Regions from separate parts of the Homo sapiens genome. Here regions 1, 2 and 3 are each linked to region 4. Evidence: promoter capture Hi-C in human tissues and cell types (Jung and others, 2019). All regions are on one chromosome and are shown on one strand. Each heading gives the region's core, a stretch centred on a gene start or on the middle of the fragment in contact. The rest is flanking DNA. Distances are from core to core; before and after follow the strand shown.

What was found. The method cuts DNA at HindIII sites, captures the fragments that hold promoters and counts their contacts. A contact is called where the count stands out against the background at its distance.
Region 1: a contact is called between a fragment that was not itself captured here and the fragment with the promoter of POMC in region 4, in 1 of the 25 tissues and cell types used here (adrenal gland).
Region 2: a contact is called between a fragment that was not itself captured here and the fragment with the promoter of POMC in region 4, in 1 of the 25 tissues and cell types used here (aorta).
Region 3: a contact is called between a fragment that was not itself captured here and the fragment with the promoter of POMC in region 4, in 1 of the 25 tissues and cell types used here (lymphoblastoid cells).

Annotation. Positions count from the first base shown.
Region 1 is chr2:25,507,670-25,510,499 of GRCh38, forward strand. All of the region lies in intron 9 of DTNB (dystrobrevin beta), which reads right to left. Among named protein-coding and RNA genes, the nearest start is that of DTNB-AS1, 88 kb to the left of the region's middle. The HindIII fragment of the contact is 4,673 bases long and covers 1-2,830 here.
Region 2 is chr2:24,804,642-24,807,341 of GRCh38, forward strand. The region is part of intron 3 of CENPO (centromere protein O); the gene reads left to right. Among named protein-coding and RNA genes, the nearest start is that of CENPO, 13 kb to the left of the region's middle. The HindIII fragment of the contact is 4,865 bases long and covers 1-2,700 here.
Region 3 is chr2:25,597,928-25,600,627 of GRCh38, forward strand. The region is part of intron 5 of DTNB (dystrobrevin beta); the gene reads right to left. Among named protein-coding and RNA genes, the nearest start is that of DTNB, 74 kb to the right of the region's middle. The HindIII fragment of the contact is 7,124 bases long and covers 1-2,700 here.
Region 4 is chr2:25,166,958-25,170,016 of GRCh38, forward strand. It overlaps POMC (proopiomelanocortin), which reads right to left and starts at 1,623. Exons shown (of 3, transcript NM_000939.4): 1 at 1,541-1,623. RefSeq lists a promoter at 1,497-2,309, cis regulatory regions at 1,648-1,660, 1,726-1,899, 1,900-1,925 and an enhancer at 1,720-1,739. The HindIII fragment of the contact is 18,073 bases long and covers 1-3,059 here.

The DNA of each region.
Region 1 (2,830 bases), core at 33-2,532, 340 kb after region 4:
ACTCTGCTTTAGTCTATTCTCTACAGCGGCCAGAAAGAACATCCTTTTAAAATGGAAGTCAGATCAGTCAAAGCAATCCAAACACATCCTCTTGTCACTTAGTCCTTACAATGGCATATAAGACCCTCTACCATCTAGCCCTCATAATATCTTTGATTTCATTTCCCTCTTGCTAATTTAACTCCCCCTCTACCAGCTTTTTGATGTTCCTTAAACATGCTAGGTATGCTTTGGCTGCAGGGCCTTTGCCCAGCCTGTTCCTTTGGCAAGGAATGCTCTTCCTCCAGATACCCAAAAGGGTAACTCCATCACCTCCTTCAAGCTGATGTTCAAATGTCACTTTTCATTAAGGCCTAAAGCAATTATTAAAAATGGCAACCCACTAGACCTCCAATACTGCCCATCCCTCTTTCCCTATTTTGCTGTTCTATATAGCACTTATTACCTTCTAATATATAATTTATTTATTTATTAAGATTTTTGCCTGTTTCCCACCACTAAAAAACAAGCTTCATGAGAGCAAAGATTGTTTTGTCTGTTTTTCTTTAAGTGAGGCCTGGAACATATTAAGTGCCCAATAAATATTTGCTGAATGACTGATAAACAGAGAAAATCTGAAGATAACGAAAGGAATAATAAGACAAAAGCAGGAATCAGTAATTATCTGTTTCATTTCATGATAATTACTAACAATTTTGACATATAAAGGAAAGGGCTGTTAAATATGATCCATTCTGAATGTCAAATATGCTAGGTATACCACTGGCCTTCCAATTTATAAATATGGTATACCTCTTCATTTATTTAGGGCTTTTAACATTTCTTTTTTGTTTGTTTTTTTTTTTTTGAGATGGAGTTTCGCTCTTTGTTTTTTATTTTTTTGAGATGGAGTTTCGCTCTTGTTGCCCACACTGGAGTGCAACGTCATGATCTTGGCTCACCACAACCTCCGCCTCCCGGGTTCAAGCGATACTCCCACCTCAGCCTGCCGAGAAACTGGGATTACAGGTGTGCACCACCACGCCGGGCTAATTTTTTATTTTTAGTAGAGACAGGGTTTCTCCATGTTGGTCAGGCTGGTCTCAAACTCCCAACTTCGGGTGATCCACCCACCTCAGCCTCCCAAAGTGCTGGGATTATAGGCGTGAGCCACTGCACCCGGCCCTAAAATTTCTTTCAGCAATACTTTGTAGTATTTAGTTTACACATCTTGCACATATTTCATTATATGTATTCCTACGTTATGTTTCTCAATGCTATTATAAATGGTATTGCTTTTTAAAATTTCATTTCCTAATTGCTGCTAATATACAGAAATGCCACTGATTTTTTTAAAGTGATCTATGTCCTGCAATACTGCTAACTTTGTTAGTTCTAGTACTTTGCTTTGTAGATTCCTTAGCATTTTCTATGTACACAATCACGTCATCTATGAATAAAGAAAATTTTAATATTTCCTTTTCGATCTGAATGCCTTTAATTTCTTTTTCTCGTATTACTGCACTAGCTAGGATCACTAGTAAAATGCTGAATAGATGCACTAAGAGTGACATTCTTGCATTGTTCCCAATATTAAGGTAAAATGTTCAGTCTTTTAACATTAAGTATGATGGTAGCTAGGTAGGTTTTTCATAGATGTGCATTTTCAGATTGAGAAGGTACCCTCTATTCCTAACTTTCTGAGAGTTTTTAAAAATGTGAATTGAGGGTTGAATTTTGTCAAATGCCTAAGATCATTTTCCTTCTCCTCGAAACATACCCTTTACAAATTCCTTTAGCGAGGTTCCTTTAGTAGTGAGCATTTTTATTCATCTGCAAATGTTTTTGTCTTTGCCTTTCTTGACAGGTATTTTCTCACTGGGTATACAATTTTAGGATTATTATTTTCCTCTCAGTTCTTGGAAGATCGTATTCCACTCTCCTTTGGTTTCTAATGTTGCTCTTCAGAAGTCAGCTCTCTGTGAAATTGTCAATTCTTTGTAAATAATCTTCTATTTGTTTTTAGTATCTTTTCTTTGTCTCTGGGGTCCTCTAGCTTTACTATGATGTGTGTAGGTATGAATTTTCTTTTAGATTCTTTTTTTTTTTTTTTTTTTTTGAGACAGAGTGTTGCTCTGTCGCCTAGGCTGGAGTGCAGTGGTGCGATCTCAGCTCAATTGCAACCTCCATCTCTTGGGTTCAAGTGATTCTTGTGCTTCAGTCTCCCAAGTAGCTGGGACTACAGGCACGCATCACCACACCTGGCTAATTTTTGTATTTTTAGTAGAGATGGGGCTTCACCATGTTGGCCAGCCTGGTCTCGAACGCCTGACCTCAAGTGATCTGCCCACCTTGACCTCTCAAAGTGCTGGGATTACAGGCATGAGCCACCATGCCCGGCCTAGATTCTTAATTAAGATTTGTTGACCACTGCTATGAACTTGGGACAATTTCCATTCATTATCTTTTGGCCTTACCAAGAATTTTTTTTATTTTGTCCTTCTGGAATTCCAATTATCTGTAGGTTTATAATCTCTAAATCTAATCTGATATTTACCTTATCTAATTGAGGTTTCTATTTTTTTTTTAATTCCTAGTTTTATTTGATTCCTTTTCAGATTTTCTGGTAATTTTTATATTCTTTTGTTTCTCCATACTTTATACTTTTAACATACTCCTTTTTTAAAAAAATATTTACTTTATATGCTGTATTTGATAGTTCACACTCTTTGTAGGACTTTAATGTATTGTTCCTGTTAATTCTTACACAGGCCAGCTTATTTTTTTCTTACGTGAGTTCAAGTTCCTTGGAACTTATCTGTGGAGATTACTCAAGGCTGAGGTTTTTAAG
Region 2 (2,700 bases), core at 185-2,684, 360 kb before region 4:
TTGAACATTGGCCCCCACTCTCTTCTGACTTGTAGAGTTTGTGCCGAGAGATCAGCTGTTAGTCTGATGGGCTTCCCTTTGTGGGTAGCCCGACCTTTCTCTCTGGCTGCCCTTACATTTTTTCCTTCATTTCAACTTTGGTGAATCTGACAATTATGTGTCTTGGGGTTGCTCTTCTCAAGGAGTATCTTTGTGGCGTTCTCTGTAGTTCCTGAATATGAATATTGGCCTGCCTTGCTAGTTTGGGGAAGTTCTCCTGGATAATATCCTGCAGAGTGTTTTCCAACTTGGTTCCATTCTCCCCATCACTTTCAGGTACACCTATCAGACGTAGATTTGGTCTTTTCACATAGTCCCATATTTCTTGGAGGCTTTGTTCGTTTCTTTTTATTCTTTTTTCTCTAAACTTCTCTTCTTGCTTCATTTCATTCATTTCATCTTCCATCACTGATGCCCTTTCTTCCAGTTGATCGAATCGGCTACTGAGGCTTGTGCATTCGTCACGTGGGTCTCACGCCATGGTTTTCAGCTCCATCAGGTCCTTTAAGGACTTCTCTGCATTGGTTATTCTAGTTAGCCATTCGTGTAATTTTTTTCAAGGTTTTTAACTTCTTTGCCATGGGTTCGAACTTCCTCCTGTAGCTCGGAGTAGTTTGATCGTCTGAAGCTGTCTTCTCTCAACTCGTCAAAGTCATTCTCCGTCCAGCTTTGTTCCATTGCTGGTGAGGAGCTGCGTTCCTTTGGAGGAGGAGAGGCGCTCTGATTTTTAGAGTTTCCAGTTTTTCTGCTCTGTTTTTTCCCCATCTTTGTGGTTTTATCTACCTTTGGTCTTTGATGATAGTGACGTACAGATGGGGTTTTGGTGTGGATGTCCTTTCTGTTTGTTAGTTTTCCTTCTAACAGTCGGGACCCTCAGCTGCAGGTCTGTTGGATTTTGCTGGAGGTCCACTCCAGACGCTGTTTGCCTGGGTATCAGCAGCGGAGGTTGCAGAGCAGCGAATGTTGGTGAACAGCAAATGCTGCTGCCTGATCGTTCCTCTGGAAGTTTTGTCTCAGAGGAGTACCCAGCTGTGTGAGGTGTCAGTCTGCCTCTACTGGGGGATGCCTCCCAGTTAGGCTACTCGGGGGTCAGGGACCCACTTGAGGAGGCAGTCTGTCTGTTCTCAGACCTCCAGCTGCGTGCTGGGAGAACCACTACTCTCTTCAAACTATCAGACAGGGACATTTAAGTCTGCAGAGTTTTCTGCTGCCTTTTGTTTTGCTATGCCCTGCCCCCAGAGGTGGAGTCTACAGAGGCAGGCAGGCCTCCTTGAGCTGCAGTGGGCTCCACCCAGTTCGAGCTTCCAGGCTGCTTTGTTTACCTATCCAAGCCTCGGCAAGGGCGGGCGCCCCTCCCCCAGCCTTGCTGCTGCCTTGCAGTTTGATCTCAGCCTGTTGTGCTAGCAATGAGCAGGCTCTGTGGGCGTAGGACCCTCTGAGCCAGGCGCGGGATATAATCTCCTGGTGTGCCGTTTGCTAAGACCGTTGGAAAAGCGCAGTATTGGGGTGGGAGTGACCCGATTTTCCAGGTGCCGTCTGTCACCCCTTTCTTTGACTAGGAAAGGGAACTCCCTGACCCCTTGCGCTTCCTGGGTGAGGCGATGCCTCGCCCTGCTTTGGCTCACACTCGGTGTGCTGCAACCACTGTCCTGCACCCACGGTCCGACACTTCCCAGAGAGATGAACCTGGTACCTCAGTTGGAAATGCGGAAATCACCCGTCTTCTGCGTTGCTCACGCTGGGAGCTGTAGACTGGGGCTGTTCCTATTCGGCCATCTTGGCTCCACCCCCTCACCTAACATTTGTCAGGCACTACTGGTAAGCCAGGCAAGTTCTTCCTGACAGGTTCTTAACCTGCCCTAATAAACACCTAAGTTTGTTACCTCAATCATATACATATTGGGTATATGCCTGGTAGAATTGCTGAGTCATAGGATATGCATATTCGGTTTAGTAAATACTGCCAGTTTTTGAAAGTGATTGTACTAGTTTTACATTCCCAGCAATAGTTGTATAAGATTTCCCTTGTTTTGCATTTTTACCAATACTTAAAGTGGCCTGCCTTGAGTTGTTGATACTTGTGTCATTTTTGACATCTGTCATCCAGACTCAACCTCCTAGGGAGCTTGACCCTTCCCTTTTTTCAGTTTTCTCTCTAGCCTAGGTTCAGTCAGCAAGACCTATCAGATTTTTCTTTTATATTGCCTTTGTCCTTCCTCCATTGCCACAGCTCAAATATTAGTCATATATGGAGTAAATATCAGGTGATTTGGATATCAGGATTATGACAGTAGTCTGCCAGTTGGTGCATCTTCTAGTATTTCTGCTTTTCCAATAAATCCTGCACAGCCAAGAAAATGCTTCATGAAACACCGCACCATTGCTCTGCTCAAAAGCCGTCAACAACCCTTCATTGCCCATTGGATATCAGCCTTCCTCCCCCTCTTCCTTTTCCACCTGTACCTCTCTTCCTTCCTCCCTTCTTCCGTTCTTTTTTTTTAATTAAAGTGTAATATATATGAAGTGCACTATGACAGAGATTAAAGTATAGAGCATTACCAACACCCAGAAGCCTCCAGTTTGCCTCTTCCTAGTCTTCTCTTAAGTCTTCTCTTAAGGTACCCACTATTCTGATTTCTGTCACCATACATAGGTTTTACC
Region 3 (2,700 bases), core at 88-2,587, 430 kb after region 4:
ATAAGCCCCACCATGTGCTAGGCGCCACTTCAGTTAACTATGCTGAGCTGCCAGTAGCCACATTATCCTCTTCTTCCTTAGTAACAGAACACTAATTTTATTTTGTGCAGTAATGTACCAACTAACAAGTTGCAAGTTCCCAGCAAGTAGCGGTCATGTGACTAACTTCTAGCTAAAATGAGCTTGTAAGCAGAAGGGTTGTAGGGGACTTCCAGAAGACTAGGTAAACAAACCTAACTGAGCCAAAAAAGCAGGCCACTTGTTCCTTATTCCCTTCCTCCTTCTTCTACCTGGAGTGCAGCTATGATAGCTGGAGCTCCAGCTGCCATCTTGCACTATGTGGTAATCTCAATCTTGATATAGAAATCACTCTAGAATGGTAGGGGAAAAAAAAGACAAAGTGTGAATCCCAGATGAACATGAAGTTACCATACTGGCCCTGGACTACCCACCTCTGGACTTCTTTTATGTGAGAGAAAATTAAACCTCAACTTTGTTTACGATACTGTTATTCCGGGTTTTTGCTCTCATGCAACAAACTCTAACACTAAGCATTACTCTACTATTACAGCTTAGAAAGGTTAACTTGCTTAAGGTCAAAAAGTTCAGAGGCCAAATCAAGTTTAAAACCACACCTATCTGACTCCAAAATAAATACCATTACACCACACTCCTTCAAAATATAATTTAGAATAGATACAAAAACACATAAGCAGGAATTGTCAAGTTCTAAAATAAAGACATTTGGAAGCTAGGCCTTGAAAGAGAGGATCTGGAATGATGGGGTCAAAACAGGTTGAGGATAGGGACTGGGGGGCACTAAAGAAGAGTAGGATAAAAGTCTATGACAGGAGCATGCAGCCTGTATCTCTTACCGGTGATAAGCAGGAAACAGGGTATTGAAGAAAAAATTCTACAACAGCCAATTTATAGTGAGAAAAAAAGAAAAATAAAGACTGAATAGGAAGAGTATTTCTGTTATAAAAGAAAACGATGAAAGAGGGAAGCAATCTGGATTTAGCTTAAAAACTTTTAAGTAGAGATCAAATTTTTAGAAAGCTAGGTTTCAAGGCAATTAGACTGTTAATGACCGGCACACAATGAATAAAAGAAAAAGAATGGAATTGGAGACACCAGCTAGGAAACCTTGTAAACAATGCACAAAGGAGGTTGTGGGGGAGCCTGGATTACAGCAGTGACAGTGTGTGCGGGGACAGGGGAGGCCAAGTCCAAGGCATTTCAATGCAAGGAACTGCAGTTGATGGCAAACTAGATTACGGAATAAAGGAAGTTTAAAAGTTAGGATTATTTTAAGTTTCTAGTTTGGGGAAATGATGACAAATCCTGATTGACATAAGCAAATCAAAGATAAAGATATTACACTTAGCTTTGAACATTACTGTTTGAACTAACTAGCAATTTTTTTTTTTTTTAGACGGGGTCTCACTTTGTTGCCCAGGCTGGAGTGCAGTGGTGTGATCTTGGCTCACTGCAAGCTCCACCTCCTGGGTTCACACCATTCTCCTGCCTCAGCCTCCTGAGTAGCTGGGACTACAGGCGCCCGCCACCATGCCCAGCTAATTTTTTGTATTTTTAGTAGAGACGGGGTTTCACCGTGTTAGCCAGGATGGTCTCAATCTCCTGATCTCGTGATGCACGCCTCGGCTTCCCAAAGTGCTGGGATTACAAGTGTGAGCCACAGTGTCTGGCCCAAACTAGCAAATTTTTAAGTGGAACTACCATGCAGACAGTTAGAAACAATATTTGACCACAGTTCTAGACTGCAGATAGAGAACTTTGAAAATGTTACCAATGATATGAATAAATGATGCTCTTCAAAGGAGGGAAGAACATAAATGATTTAACCTTTAAATAGCTGGCTGCTGGTCAGGCGTGGTGGCTCACACCTGTAATCCCAGAACTTTGGGAGGCCCAGGCAGAGGAGAATCGCTTGAGCCCAGGAGTTCAAGGCCAGCCTGGGCAAGATAGCAGGACCTTGTCTCTACAAAAAATAAAAAAAATTAGCTAGGCATGGTGGCAGGTGCCTGTACTCCCAGCTACTCAGGAGACTGAAGGGGGAGGACCGCTTGAGTGCAGAAGTTGGGGGCTGCAGTGAGCTCTGATCATACCACTACACTCCAGCCTGGGTAACAGAGCAAGACCCTATCTCAAAAATAAATAAATAGCTGCTAGTCTTACAAGGAGGAAAATAATCGTTCATTGAATCTGAATGAAAACAAAGGGTCAACATGGGAGGTGGCAGACACTGCCAGGTGCCTCAGTATCTTCTTCCCCTTCTCGCTCACTAGCTGAGCCCGACTGCTGGGAATGACTATGTGCCACTTAACGAATGACTTCTCAGCCTCCTTTGCACATTGCAATGCTGGAGTAGATGTCTGGAAAACCCTTTGCTTTCTTCATAGAGGCAACTCTTTCTTCCTTCTGCCTGGAGTAAGTACAGAGGCCTGGGATATGGCAAACATCTTTTGATCCTAAGGACGAAGGCCATATGGCAGAAGAAAGACGGGAAGAAGTGAAGTCTGTGAGGACAGCCATAAGTCAGGGTACCAACTTTGAACTTCTCAGCGTTTGGACTTATTTTTACATGAGAAAAATAAATCCCAATCTGCTTAAGCCACTCTCAGTCAAGTTTTCTATCGCCACTCTGTGTATTCATAACTAATTAACTAATGAGTAATT
Region 4 (3,059 bases), core at 373-2,872:
GTATTATAATCCAAAAATGGAAAGCTCTGGAAAAATAGAAACTTGAAATTTGCTCATCCTGAGATTAACTTTATAGTAGAACTACACTTATTAGAACTTCATAGGTGTGAGGGGCTCTCTATGAGCTCAACAAATCATTTTGCTTGTTACTGTAAAACTGCACGCTGGCCATGACCTTTTGTAAAGATTAGAGGAGCACAGGGGCCGAGTTTTGTCCTTACACCATGACATACATGCATCGAGTCCTATAACAAAAGCATCAAAGGAACAGTAAGTCATTAAAGTGGCCATAATCTGTGCAGAGTTTATAAACTGACACACACACAAAAAAAATCCACACACACTTTTATTTTCCTTGGCTCCTTCCAGCCATTCTGTAAGAACCCTCCCTGCCCCATTTAAACATGAAGAATTTGGGGAATCCAAATGCCAAGTGGACTGTCTCTCCTTCGCTGGAAACGCCCCTTACCTGAGCCTTGATCATTCCAAATGGCTGCCCGTGCCCTCAACCCAGGATCTGCGCCATAAACCGTCCACCCCGGTTCTGTTGAGGGCATCCGAAACTAGACAGTGCGTTTCAGGATCTAGGACAGCTCCCGCCCCGGCCACCTGTTTTTAACCCCAGCTAGGTCTTGGAGAGAAGAGACCCAACTATTCTGCATTGTAATTGACCCAGTTATCATGTAATTATCATAGCGCGGCCACCTCGGGTGCGCTAAGGTGGGCAAGGAAACAAGGATTCAGGGGTCTGAATCCGAAAAAATCCGGAAGGCAGGGCGTTCATTATGACTTTTATCCTTTTCTCTGCTGCCCCGTTTCCAACATTAATTTGCGATAGCGTGTATGGAATTTGACTTTCAAGATGTGACACCTATCCTGGAAACTGGGAGCAAGAGATACTAAAAGACCGGGCTGGCCGGGGGCGGTGGCTCGCGCCTGTAATGCCAGAACTTTGGGGGGCCAAGGCGGGCGGATCACCTGTTGTCGGGAGTTTGAGACCAGCCTGACCAACATGGAGAAACTCCGTCTCTACTAAAAATACAAAAATTAGCCGGGCGTGGTGGCGCATGCCTGTAATCCCAGCTACTCGGGAGGCTGAAGCAGGAGAATCGCTTGAACCCGGGAGGCGAAGGTTGCGGTGAGCAGAGATCACCCCTTTGCTCTCCAGCATGGGCAACAAGAGCGAAACTCCGTCTCAAAAAAAAAAAAAAAGACCGGGTTGTCCCAAGACCTCCTAGCAAGCTCTCGGAGCCTCCGGACCGCCGCGAGCCCCTGGGGGAGAGGAGGCCGCCGGCTCCCTGGAGACAGCGCCTGCAGCTTCGCGGCCGTCCGCCCAGGGGCCGGACGTGGGCCCTCCAGCTCAGCTACTGGCGGCTTCTCATGCCGCAGTCGGCGCAGAAAGTTTGTCGAGAACTCGGGACCGCGGAGAGCCAGAGGCGCCCAGGTCCGCCTTCGGAGCCGGAGCCGGCCGACTGCATCGCGAGGACGGGGACAGGGGATCCCGGGGAAAGAGCACGGGTCCCCCACGCTGCGCCCTTACCTGTCTCGGGAGGCTGCTCTCTGAGGGCGGGGACGCTCGGCGGCCTCTCTCGGTCGCGGCTCTTCTTCCCCTCCTTCGCCGCCGCTTGGTCCCGCGCTCCTCTGTCCTTATATACTTGCCGAGCTCTCCTGGTGGGCGCGGGACTTTGACCTTCCCGGCAGCACAAGGAGCAGCTCCCCGGGCCAGGGGAAGGGGGGCCGCGGGGCGTGGGAGGGGGGCTTCCAGACGGGGGACGAGCGCGGGGAGACGCGCTGGAAAGGGGCTGGAATTAGCACTGTCCTGCCGAAGGCGCACCTGGCCGCTCGCCCTCAGGAAGAACTTAATTATGGATGGCGTTGGGTCTCCGCTTAGAACGGGCGGGAGGCTTAGCACCCCCGTGTGGGGCAGGCCGGGCAGCCTCTGAGGTCGTTGAGGCGAGGGTGAAGTTACCTGCGTGCGTGCTGGGGCTGGCATCTGCCTGGTTCGCATTTGGCGGTAAATATCACCGTCTGCACACGGGGAGGCCTCCGATTTCCCCATTGTTTGGAAACTGTGATGTGGAAGTCGTGGGGAATCATATTCTCTCTGTTCCACTTTGGGGAGGGGAGGAGGGAGCAGAAGTCAGGAGCCGTCTTGTGGGTGTGAAGGTGAGTTGCACTGCTCCCCTGGGGCCTGCTCTCCAAGGGCCTGGTTTAGGGGAGGCTCCCTTCCGTGTCCCAAGCCTCAAGGAAAAAGTCCTGTTAACCTAAACCATTAAATGGGGAGAGGGTGATGCTGTGAAGAGCAGCTGAAGTGCTTTCCCTGTGGCCTCTGATCCCTCCCTTTGCCATGAGCTGGCAGGGTGGTCTGGGGACTCAGACAATTTTCAACATCCCCCTTGGCCCTGGAGTTCTGGCTTGGCTTTAGTTCCAAATATCAGACCAGAGAGAAGAGTACAGCACTCAAACCAAGCTAAGAGACTCTACCTTAACCTGGAGTAAATAAACAAAACCAAATTGTGCGATGTGGTGGGTGTGGGAGGGAGTATTGGGACTAAACTGGACTTCAAATCAAGACACTTGCTTAATCTGCCAAATGCCAGAACTTTCCTGATTCCCCATGAGATGCTCTTTTGGACTCCAGGACTCTCTTGTGGATTCAGCTTTTCTGGTGACATTGGCTTTACATTCAGCAATCCTTTCCCTTTGGACCACAAGAGAGATCCAAGCTCCGTCACAGTAGACAAGGTGCTTCATCACCCGGCTTTGGCCCCTTTCCAGGGCCATTTCCCAGTTCTCCACCTTGCATCCTGGCACTTCAGCATCCACAACATTCACACTGCTAGAACATGGCTTTCTTGGGTCTCCATTGTCCAAGCTGTTCCCCCAACTAGAACATCCTTCCTCTCTCCAGCCATCCAGGAGCTTGACTCACATCAAGATGTAGCCCATCCATCAGCCCCTGTTCTCTGAAGCCCTCTTTGGCCACTTTTCCTACCAGGGGCATGAGGCATGACCTCCTCTGCCTTCCACAGAAGTCCATCCCCATCTTGTCAGTGCAA